Regions from separate parts of the Homo sapiens genome. Here regions 1, 3 and 4 are each linked to region 2. The links are contacts of gene promoters, found by promoter capture Hi-C in blood cells and fetal thymus (Javierre and others, 2016). All regions are on one chromosome and are shown on one strand. Each heading gives the region's core, a stretch centred on a gene start or on the middle of the fragment in contact. The rest is flanking DNA. Distances are from core to core; before and after follow the strand shown.

What was found. Contacts are between HindIII fragments. The CHiCAGO score rates a contact against its expected background, and 5 or more counts as called.
Region 1: a contact is called between a fragment that was not itself captured here and the fragment with the promoter of SLC25A38 in region 2, in 2 of 17 cell types (activated CD4 T cells and total CD8 T cells). The highest score is 9.0, in activated CD4 T cells.
Region 3: a fragment that was not itself captured here is called in contact with the fragment with the promoter of SLC25A38 in region 2 in 6 of 17 cell types (total B cells, fetal thymus, total CD4 T cells and 3 more); the score reaches 6.7 in total B cells.
Region 4: a fragment that was not itself captured here is called in contact with the fragment with the promoter of SLC25A38 in region 2 in 3 of 17 cell types (naive CD8 T cells, total CD8 T cells and activated CD4 T cells); the score reaches 7.5 in naive CD8 T cells.

Annotation. Positions count from the first base shown.
Region 1 is chr3:39,120,180-39,122,890 of GRCh38, forward strand. It overlaps TTC21A (tetratricopeptide repeat domain 21A), which reads left to right. Exons shown (of 29, transcript NM_001366900.1): 9 at 818-1,010. Among named protein-coding and RNA genes, the nearest start is that of TTC21A, 14 kb to the left of the region's middle. The HindIII fragment of the contact is 4,421 bases long and covers 1-2,711 here.
Region 2 is chr3:39,381,930-39,384,629 of GRCh38, forward strand. SLC25A38 (solute carrier family 25 member 38) reads left to right here and starts at 1,441. Exons shown (of 7, transcript NM_017875.4): 1 at 1,441-1,864. The coding sequence starts at 1,796. It overlaps LOC105377644 (a long non-coding RNA gene), which reads right to left and starts at 2,396. Exons shown (of 3, transcript XR_007096252.1): 1 at 2,312-2,396; 2 at 1,024-1,115. RefSeq lists enhancers at 1,750-1,929, 1,950-2,049, 2,060-2,109, 2,580-2,649 and a silencer at 2,340-2,489. The HindIII fragment of the contact is 12,754 bases long and covers 551-2,700 here.
Region 3 is chr3:39,059,758-39,062,457 of GRCh38, forward strand. The region is part of intron 1 of WDR48 (WD repeat domain 48); the gene reads left to right. Among named protein-coding and RNA genes, the nearest start is that of WDR48, 9.1 kb to the left of the region's middle. The HindIII fragment of the contact is 9,058 bases long and covers 1-2,700 here.
Region 4 is chr3:39,081,005-39,083,704 of GRCh38, forward strand. All of the region lies in intron 11 of WDR48 (WD repeat domain 48), which reads left to right. Among named protein-coding and RNA genes, the nearest start is that of GORASP1, 25 kb to the right of the region's middle. The HindIII fragment of the contact is 1,597 bases long and covers 454-2,050 here.

The DNA.
Region 1 (2,711 bases), core at 93-2,592, 260 kb before region 2:
CTCTGGCTGATAACTGTGACATGTGGGTTCTACATCCTTAGCCTAGGTGCCCCCTCAGAGATGCCATGAAGATCAGGGAGACGGGGTCTGAAAGTGCTTTTGGAGTGGGCTGTGCCTTATTTGGGGAAAGCGGGTGGTATTGCAGCTGTTATGCAGCAGAGCCACACCCAGCTCTAGCCTCTAGTGCCTGGGTGCCCATCTCCCATATTCTTTTTTGTGGAGGTGACCTGAGAAGGCTGGCCTGCCTAGGCCTCTCAAACATCAGGGAAGGTTCAACTAGACCAGGTTGCCAACAAATCTGTATCTCTTTCAGACCCTTCAGCCCCAAAGCAAGATTTACTAGAAGTAGTTGCTGTAAGAATGAAGGCAACTCTGGGACCCCAGGAACCAGAACTGTGGAGTTGCATAGGCACCATCTCTCCCTCTGTATGTCTGATTCTCTCTGCCTTGTTCTCCACACATGGCAGGGAACATGGCTGATGGCAGCCTTTGGGGCCACTTCTTATTACTGGACACATTCAGCTTCAATTTTTGAAAAACCTCTTGGTGACTCCTTAGACCAATTACTGTGACCAGACAGGGGATAGGTCCCTCAGAGGACCCTGTGGCTAGAGGCAGGTTCCACAGTTGTGGCCAGTGAGAGGTTCCTTGGGAGCCAGACAGCAACACAGACCCAGCTGCCTAGACACACGGTACCTCTTGGCTCTCCTGGGCCTACCAGCCCTGCCTACCAAAGTGTCCCCCGTTTCTGACATGACCTTGCTCATACAGGCTGGACTGACTGGTTTCCCAATTCCCACCTTCCTGTTTCTTGCAGTGTGGGAGTCACCAGGTGATTCTAGGGCTAGTGTGTAGTTTCATCGAGCGCACCTTCATGGCCACCCCCTCGTATGTCCATGTGGCCACAGAACTGGGCTATCTCTTCATCCTGAAGAACCAAGTGAAAGAGGCCTTGCTGTGGTATTCAGAAGCCATGAAACTGGACAAGGATGGCATGGCTGGTTTGACAGGTATATGCAGGTGTGGCAGGGCTCAGGGATGGGTGTCGGGAGCCAAACCGGGCAGCTTCCATGGGTCCAGAAGAGAGGTGCTGGAAAGCATTCTCCTTGAAGGGTATGTGAATTTTGGGGTACAATGTATGATGGGGTATCTTTCTGGGAATCCACAAGTATAGATGTAAGAGGCACAGCAATGCTCAGAGGTATGATCAGAGTCACTCTGATCTCCACCAGACCTCCAATGTCTGTCTACACTGACTGCCCCAGAAGACTGACAGGCTGAACCTTATACTCAGTGGGCCCTGCCTCTTCTCAGGCTGCCCAGGCCGGGGTTGGAGGCAGTTCTACTCACCACCAGTCCCCACATGCAGAGCCTCTAGATTCACCTCTGTAGACCCTCCTTCAGGGCTCTGAGCTGAAAAACCACCAAAAAGAGTAGCTCTGAGAATTATATATTTCCCTGTCTGTCCAGGTGACTTTAAAAATCTTTTCTATAAATGCCAAATGAACTTTCTACAGTGCCATTTCCATTTTACGCATTTTTTAAAGCCCCCTATTCCATGGTCTGTGGTGAACTCTGAAGTGGCAGTATTTGGTTTGGGTTGAGGAAGTTGTGTGGTCCAGTGCTCAAGGCAGGCCGACTCTTGCCCTGGCTCTGAGGGGCTATGTGTTTGGGGCCAAGTCACTTCTCCTTTCTAAACTCCAGGCTCCTCATCTGCATAGCACATTTATCAGAGTAGTTTATCTTGACTTCTGGTTCAACATGTCAGGCTGACCCCCTCAAATCCATGCTTTCCCTCTGTCCCCAAATCCCATGAAAATAATGAAAGATATCTTTAAAAGGTAATGAGCCAGGCGTGATGGCTCACGCCTGTAATCCCAATACTTTGGGAGGCTGAGGTGGGCAGGTCATTTGAGGTCAGGAATTCGAGACCAGCCTGGCCAACATGATGAAACCCCATCTCTACTAAAAACACACAAAAATTAGCCAGGTGTGGTGGAGGACACCTGTAATCCCAGCTATTTGGGACGCTGAGGCCGGAGAATCACTTGAACCCGGGAGATGGAGGTTGATATGAGCCGAGATGACACCACTGCACTGCAGCCTGGGCCACAGAGTGAGACTCCACCTCAAAAAAAGAAAGAAAAAAAAAAAAAAGAGTACATAGCAGCGTGGACCAGAAACTTTGAAGAATTTCACATTTCTAGAAGATGGAAGGCAAATGGTGTCAAATACATGGGAATTCGAAGCAGATCTAGAAACCCATAAGCAAACATAGGCAGAGATGGGTTAGCTAAAGAATTTAGTAGACCAGCTTTCCCCAAAGAGTTCCAGGAAAAACAAAAACTAAAAAAGACGAGCTCAGGGTCACCAGAGGCTGAGTGTGAAAGCATGCCACGGGGCAGTGAGAGCGATAATAGGAGGATTACTGGAATCATGCCTTGGCCAGAGGCTAGAATCCAGGAGGTGTGTATTGGGTGTTGGGGCAGGAGGGAGAGGAGCACTGCTCTGGATGATTTCCCACCATAACCAGGGACATGAAGGACAAAAGGACTTGGCTGCTCAGCACAAAAGCAAAATTCCCTAGAATGTTCTTCCACCAGGTTGAGTCCTTCCCTACTTCCTCCTTCAAGGGGCAGAGTCCCAGTGGTTAGCCAGAGGAAAGTCCACTGGTCAGGATGTCTGTCCCACTCTCCCAGTCCAAGCTGAGC
Region 2 (2,700 bases), core at 191-2,690:
AACAAAGGGTAGCAAAGTATTCAATCACCAGGCAGGTTTGTAATTTTGTTTCGTTTTGTTTTTTGAGATGGAGTCTCGCTCTGTCGCCCAGGCTGCAGTGCAGTGGCACGATCTCGGCCCACTGCAAGCTCCACTTCCTGGGTTCACGCCATTCTCCTGCTTCAGCCTCCCGAGTAGCTGGGACTACAGGCGCCTGCCACCACACCCGGCTATATTTTTAGCAGAGACGGGATTTCACCATGTTAGCCAGGATGGTCTCGATCTCCTGACCTCGTGATCGGCTCGCCTCGGCCTCCCAAAGTGCTGGGATTACAGGCGTGAGCCACCGCACCCGGCCTGTAATTTTTTTTTTTTTTTTAATGTTTATACTTTCCTTAATCCTTTCTGGGAATAACCTCCTCTGGGACCACTTTCCTTCCTGTTCTATGTACCTCAGAAGCACAGGAATGAAGCCTGAAAAAATATTATCTTGCTCCCTAAGTCACTTTCCTTTCTGATCTAGTTCTTGGGTGATGAATGAAGGTGGAAAGTAGCGAAGGTTGCTATGAAAAGCTTGGACTTTATTACCAGGGCCACTGCATTTTCAACAGGAGTGTCAGGATCCCAGCAGTAATGCTTTTCCATGGATCAGCCAGACAGGCATAAGGGGAAGTTGGGAGACCAAAAAAGCCATTGACAGATTCCAGGTGAGCAATAAACCAGAATTTTGACCAACTAGACCAGCGCTGTCCTACAGAAATGTAATGGGAGCCACATGTTAAAGTTTAAATGTTTTACTAGCCACATTTAAAAAGAAACACATGAAGTTATTATTATTTGTTTTAGAGACGGGGTCTTGCTTTGTCGTCCACGCTGGTCTCCAACTCCTTGGCTCCCTCAAGCAATCCTCCAGACTAGGCCTCACAAAGTGCTGAGATTACAGGCCTGGGCCACTGCCCCCGGCCTGAAGTTAATTTTAATATTTCACCTAACCCAATATATCCAAAATATCATTTCAACATATAAAAATTATTGAGATTTTACCTCACCAGTCTTAGACATCCAGCGTGTGGTTTATGCATACAGTACATATCAATTCCACACTAAATTTTCAGCATTTAAAGGGAAATATGGTCCTGAAAAAAAAACAACAAAACAAAAAAACGCCTGTTTAAGGAGAAAGCATTCCACACTGCTTGTTTTAATATAATTAAAATTAATGTATCAATTAATAAATCAATAGCCCACGTTGGCTAGTGGCTGCCTTACTGGGCAGACCAGGTCTGGATTGTAAATACGTTCAGACGTTCCACGCAAAAGCAAAGTTCCCTGCAGACGCTCCATTAAGTTCTGGGTGCAAGGAAGCGCGGATCCTTCAGTTCTGGGCGTTTTCACCAGGTGGCACTCAGAACACCCTCACGTGACAAGCGTCCCACCCGGAAGCGAAATCTCCCCTTCTACAGAGTTCCTCCGGCGCTTCCTCCACCCCGGGATACACAGAACCTCATCTCCTACGGTGCTGAAGCCTGCAGCAGGGCAGGATGGGCAGGAGAGCAGAGCCGCGGAGTCTGCGGCGCGGGTGAAGAGCGGCGCGTAATTCCCGCAGCAAGATTGTTCCGCGCCCGCAGCCCCTGGACTAGCAGGATCCGAACCCCGGCGGCTGCGTGCTTATAGGCGCAGACGTCAGAGAGCCCGCGGCTTAAAGCGCGTCGCCTGGCTAGCGCCACCCCCTAGCCTTCTTCAAGGCCTCCAGGGCTGGGCCCAAGCGCCCGTCGACGGCACCCTGGGCCCAGAGGACTCGCGGGCCTCATCTCCAATGATTCAGAACTCACGTCCGTCGCTGCTGCAACCCCAAGATGTCGGAGACACGGTGGAAACGCTTATGGTGAGGGCACTGCGGGGAAGGAAGGGCAGGGGTCCGAACCGCGGGCTCGGGCCGGAGAATTCGGGGCGTTGCTAAGGCTCGGCTACCCTTTTCCGCGCCCCAGGGTGCGCTCAGGATTTAGGATGCGGCGGGAGAGGAGTCTGACTAAGGGAATTGAGAAGGGGGCAGGGAGTGAGGAGAGGCCAGGAGCTGCAGGCCAGCCCTGGGGGCAGGCGCTGTAGGGCCGATGTCCCGGTAAAGGGCGGAATTGCCGGGGCCTGGACTGGACGCGTGCCGGGGAGTGTGCCCGCGCGGCCCCCACAAGGTGCGAGTAGGCTGCCAGGTGGAAGGGCACCCGGGCAGATTTGGGACGGTCACAAGGCCTGATAATAGCGCTGACGCTGAGAAGCCGTTGATGCCGCAGCGAGCTGGCCGGGTAGCGCTGTGCGCCCGCGGGCGGCGGCCTACCTGGAGGGGCCAGTCGTGGCGGCACCCTTCCAGCCTGTTGGGACGGCGCGTGGTCCCCCAGCGACGCCACGCCTCCTCCGGCGTTCGATTGGTCATCGTGCCCGGGCCGCCGGGCCGCTATTGGTGGAGGCGGAGGCGGGGCTGGCGGCGTGGTTGCCCGGTAGGTGGAGTCGGGGTGCAACCAGTCTTTAGACGCTAAAGGCCTGAGGCCACTGCAGCTGCCGCAGCTCTCCCTCTGAGGTCTTGCGCCCGAGGTAGGGGCGGCTTTTATTTTTTTTTTTAATCCTTAAAGGCGGAGACGGCGGCGGTGGCGACTTTACGTTGACGTCTTTGAAAACCTGCTTACCTTTTTCAGGGCTCTCCAGCCCTCGCCTCCAGATGTGAATTGG
Region 3 (2,700 bases), core at 59-2,558, 320 kb before region 2:
CAAAGAGTTTAAAACTTTTGTCAGAAAGTGTTTATTTATCCTCAGGGGAAACAAAAATGGCAGTTATTTTAAAAAATTCTTGTATTATAGGTAAAATAATCTCATATTAATTTTGTCTTTGATTATTTATGGGGTTTTTGGCCATTTCTTTTTTAAAAAGTCCCTTTTTGTAACTGTCCCTCTTTCTGTTGGTAAATTTGACTTTTTCTTATTTTATAAGGAATCTTGTTAAGAGTAAACTTTCTTTCATATTTATTTCATTATTCTCTTAGTCTTGCTCGTGTTACTTTTTGACATTCAGAAGGTTTAAGAAAATAATAACATTGTGATAAAATTCACATACCATAAAGTGCACCCTTTCAAAGTGTACAATTCAGTGATTTTTTTGTATATTCGGAAAGTTGTTTATTGGTCACCTAACTCCAGAATGTTTAATTACTCTATGTTCATTAGCAATTACTCCCCGTTTTTCATTTTTCCCTCCTTCAATCTCCTGGCAATTACTAATCTACTTTCTGTGTGGATTTGTCTATCCTAGACATTATATATAAATAGAGTCATAAAATATGTGGCCTTTTGTAAAATATGTGGCTTCTTTCACTTAGCACATTTTCAAGGTTCATCCACGTTATAGCATGTGTCAGTACAGTGTGTGTGTGTGCATATATATATATATATATGCACACACACACATCACATTTTATTTGTTTTGTCCATTGATGGATATTTGGGTTGTTTCCACTTTTGTAACATTATTGTGAATGCCACAATGCTGTGAACATTCTTGTACATAGAAAAGGTTTTGACTTGTATTTGGCCAGATCACCATTGCTCTTTTCCTTCGTAAAGATTACCATCTTTCTTGGCATGTTGGAAGAGTTTTCTCTGGCAAGGGACTATGTAAATATTCACCTGTCTTTTAAAAATTATTTTTATGCTGGCCAGGTGCAGTGGCTCACGCCTGTAATCCCAGCACTTTGGGAGGCTGAGGCGGGTGGACCACTTGAAACCCAGCCTGGCCAACATGGTGAAACCACCATCTCTACTAAAAATGCAAAAATCAGCTGGGCACAGTGGCATATGCCTGTAATCCCAGCTACTCAGGAGGCTGAGGCACGAGAATTGCTTGAACCTGGGAGGTAGAGGATGTAGTAAGCCAAGATCGGGCCACTGCTTTCCAGCCTGGGTGACAGAGCAAGATTCTCTCAAAAAATAAAAACAAAAATTATTTTTATGGTTATTAAATTTCAGTCTTTAATTCATAGAAAAATTCGTTTTTGGTTTAAGATGTGGAGAAAGGGTATAATTGTTCCTAATAGAATCACTATAGGTACTTGAGATAATTTTTTTTAATTATTATACTTCAAGTTCTAGGGTACATGTGCACAACGTGCAGGTTTGTTACATAAGTATACATGTGCCATGTTGGTTTGTTGCACCCATCAACTTGTTATTTACATTAGGTATTTCTCCTAATGCTATCCCTCCCCCAGCCCCCTACCCCCCAACATGCCCCAGTGTGTGATGTTCCCTGCCCTGTGTCCATGTGTTCTCATTGTTCAGCTCCCACTTACGAGTGAGAACATGTGGTGTTTGGTTTTCTGTCCTTGTGATAGTTTGCTGAGAATGATGGTTTCTGGCTTCATCCATGTCCCTGCAAAGGACATGAACTCATCCTTTTTTATGGCTGCATAGTATTCCATGGTGTATATGTGCCACATTTTCTTAATTCAGTCTATCATTGATGGACATTTGGGTTGGTTCCAAGTCTTTGCTATTGTGAATAGTGCTGCAATAAACATACGTGGGCATGTTTCTTTATAGTAGAATGATTTATAATCCTTTGGGTATATACTCAGTAATGGGATGGCCGGGTCAAATGGTATTTCTAGTTGTAGATTCTTGAGGAATCGCCACACTGTCTTCCACAGTGGTTGAACTACTTTACACTCCCACCAACAGTGTAAAAGCATTCCTATTTCTCCACATCCTCTCCAGCATCTGTTGTTTCCTGACTTTTTAATGACTGCCACTCTAACTGGCATGAGATGGTATCTCATTGTGGTTTTGATTTGCATTTCTCTGATGGCCAGTGATGATGAGCATTTTTTCTTGTGTCTGCTGCAGAAATGTCTTCTTTTGAGAAGTGTCTGTTCATATCCTTTGCCCACTTTTTGATGGGGTTGTTTTTGTTGTTGTTGTTGTTGTACATTTGTTTAAGTTCTTTGTAGATTCTGTATATTAGCCCTTTGTCAGATGGGTAGATTGCAAAAATTTTCTCCCATTCTGTAGGTTGCCTGTTCACTCTGATGATAGTTTCTTTTGCTGTGCATAAGCTCTTTAGTTTAATTAGATCTCATTTGTCAATTTTGGCTTTTGTTGCCATTGCTTTTGGTGTTTTAGTCATGAAGTCTTTGCCCATGCCTGTGTCCTGAATTGTATTGCCTAGGTTTTCTTCTAGGGTTTTTATGGTTTTAAGTCTTAACATTTAAGTCTTTAGTCCATCTTGAGTTAATTTTTAACTGTTTATTTCATTACATTAGAAAGTTTTACTTCTGGCTGCCAGCCAGCTTATTGACTTTTTCTTAGGTGTAATTGTTTTCAGTTGATCCCCTGTTTTCACAAGGAACAGACAGAGGTCACCAACAGTAACAAAGTAGGGGAAAATGCCCTGAAGAAAAAGTTTAGTATGTGATAGGA
Region 4 (2,700 bases), core at 2-2,501, 300 kb before region 2:
GAAGAACCTTAGATAATTTTAGAGCAGGAAAATCTCATGTTGAGGGCAGTAGTTGTTAGTGTATGTAATGGGAAACTGAAAGCTGGAAGACGTCATGATTGGAGATCTAAAGGAAGAGACATGAGCACCATAGGAAAGGTTAAATAAATAAATAAAAATAAAGGACGAGACAGGTGTTGAGCTTATTATAAAGGAAGAATTGAAAACAGCTGGTATTTTGGTTAAGCTCCTGGTTATAAAGAAAAGAGATTCACTTAATGAACTAAAGAATAAGACAGGCAAGTTTCTTGCTAGGAAAAAGGGACTGTCACTGAACAGAAACCTTGGCTTGACTACCATTTTTGCTCCCTGTGGGACATCTATGTGGGAAGTCCATTATGAAACAGTTGTTTGGTGAGCATTGCTTCAGAATGAGAGGCTTTAGTTCTTTGAGTAGAAAGTTTAGTTGCGGCAAGCTTCAAAAATCTGATTAGTTTTTCTCTACAATAGAGAGATGCCTGTTGGGGGTGGGGGTAGAAACACATTGATTTCAGAGAGGGTTCTCTTGGGGACTGGCAGGATCCAGAACAGCCCTAAGAAACTCATCAGCAGAAATTATTGATTCTTCACTTTGATACTCTACCACAAATGTGTCCCTAACTCTGTCCTGTGGCTGGACTTCGCCTCATGCTGCCCAGGACCTAATTGTCTCCAGAATACCCAAGAGAATCTGATCAGGCCAGCTCCTCTTTGAGAGTTGACCTATCTGTTTTCTGTATATGGGTCTGTTGCCCACTCTTGGTCTGGTTAACTGAGGCCTGAGTAGAATCCTGCTGTCTGAATGGGAGGTACTTCTACTTAGATGGGGCCAGCATACATCATGATTGGCATTTCTGTGTACCTAGCAGCTTCCCATATCTAGACCTTGAAGTTTTGATATCAAATGATCTGGTGTAATAGACGTGGCTAAACAGTGTGGGACAGTCAGGAGTTTTTTAGGAACATTGGCTTGGGAGTTGGACAGAGCTGCATTCTAACCTTGGCTGTGCCAAATACTCGCCAAGTGATCTACGGAATATGCTAGGGAACATCTCTAAAATGGTTTCTTCATTCCTAAAATGTCGGGGGTGCCTATTATTGGTGATGTTGAGAAGCACAGTGTCTGGTACATAATAGGAGGCTGTTGCACTAATACAGGTGAAAGGTGATATTTGTCTAGACTAGGGTGGGAACAAGGGGGATGGAAAAAATCGAATGATTAGGAAAATATTTAGGCCTGTGAACAAGAGTGATACTTTTTTTTTTCTTTTTTTTTTGATACGGAGTCTCATTCTGTTGCCCCGGCTGGAGTGCAGTGGCGCAACCTCAGCTCACTGCAACCTCTGACTCCCTGGTTCAAGCGATTCTCCTGCCTCAGCCTCCCGAGTAGCTGGGATTACAGGCATGCACCACCACATCGGGCTAATTTTTGTATTTTTAGTAGAGACAGCGTTTCTCCTTGTTGGCCAGGATGGTCTCGATCTCCTGGCCTCATGATCTGCCCGTCTTGGCCTCCCACAGTGCTGAGATTACAGGCATGAGCAACCGTGCCTGCCCACAGGAGTGATACTTTAATGAAAGGAGTATGAGGAAAGGAAAAAGCAAGAATGAGTCCCAGATTTCTTGATTGTCCAGTTTGGTGAATGGAAGTGATGTAGGGAATGTAAGATGAAAAACAGGTTATCAGGAGAAAAGGACATGCTGAGAAAGATGTTGAATTTGAGTTTCTGTGGGATATCTGAATAGAGGTGTTTGGTGGGCAGACAGCTGTACAGTCTCATGCACAGTTAAAGAACTGGGCTGGAGAAAAAGGCTCAGCAGTCATCAGCTTGTGGGTTACAGTTTGATGTCATAGGAAATGTCAGAGTTTCCAAGGGACATATGTAGACTGAGAAGAAACTAAGTCATCAGTCTTTCAGGGATGTTGGGAAAAGAGGAAGCCACAATAGTATATGATTTTAAAAAGTTGCGGGGGAGTAAGAAAATGAAGAGCCAGTGGCAGCTCCAGAACTAATTGAGTGTTTCAAGAAGAAGCTTGCGGTTAGTGGCATTAACCTGCTGTGAGTTGATTTAAGATGTGACTAACATCATGGATTTAAATAAAGAGGGTGGCCTCTGGGTAGAGTCTTAAGGGCAAAAGCCAGGTAGAGTGAGTTGAGTAGTGATTTGAAGGTGAAGAAACAGAAAATTTGACTGGATAATCTTTGAAGAAATTTGATTGGAGGGGTAGGCAGGAAGCGGCGGAAACTAGAGAAGATGTAGGAGTCAGAGGGCCAAAGGAAGCTTTTGATTTTGTTTGGTTTTGTTTGGATATTTGGGTATTTTTCAGATGTAAGAAATTTGAGCATATTTCATTGCTCCTGGGAAGAAGCCAGTAGAGACATTCATGGGTAGATGACAATACAAGGTCATCCCAAGAAGCAAGAGGTGAGGGGGACCGGAGCACAGTCAGAAGGGACACCGTTTTCCTTGCACCAGGGAGAATGATAGAGAAAGTTAAGGGGATTCTGTCAAGGCTTCTCTTTGTTTTGAGAAAAAGGAATCAGAGTCATGTGCTGAGGATAATGGGGAAGGTGGCAAGGTCAGAGGTAGAAGAGAGATTTAGTTGAGATGGACTGCAAGACAGTGACCCCAGGGCTCAAGTCTCCAGTAAATGAGGGAGAGTGGCAGGTTGCTAGATGG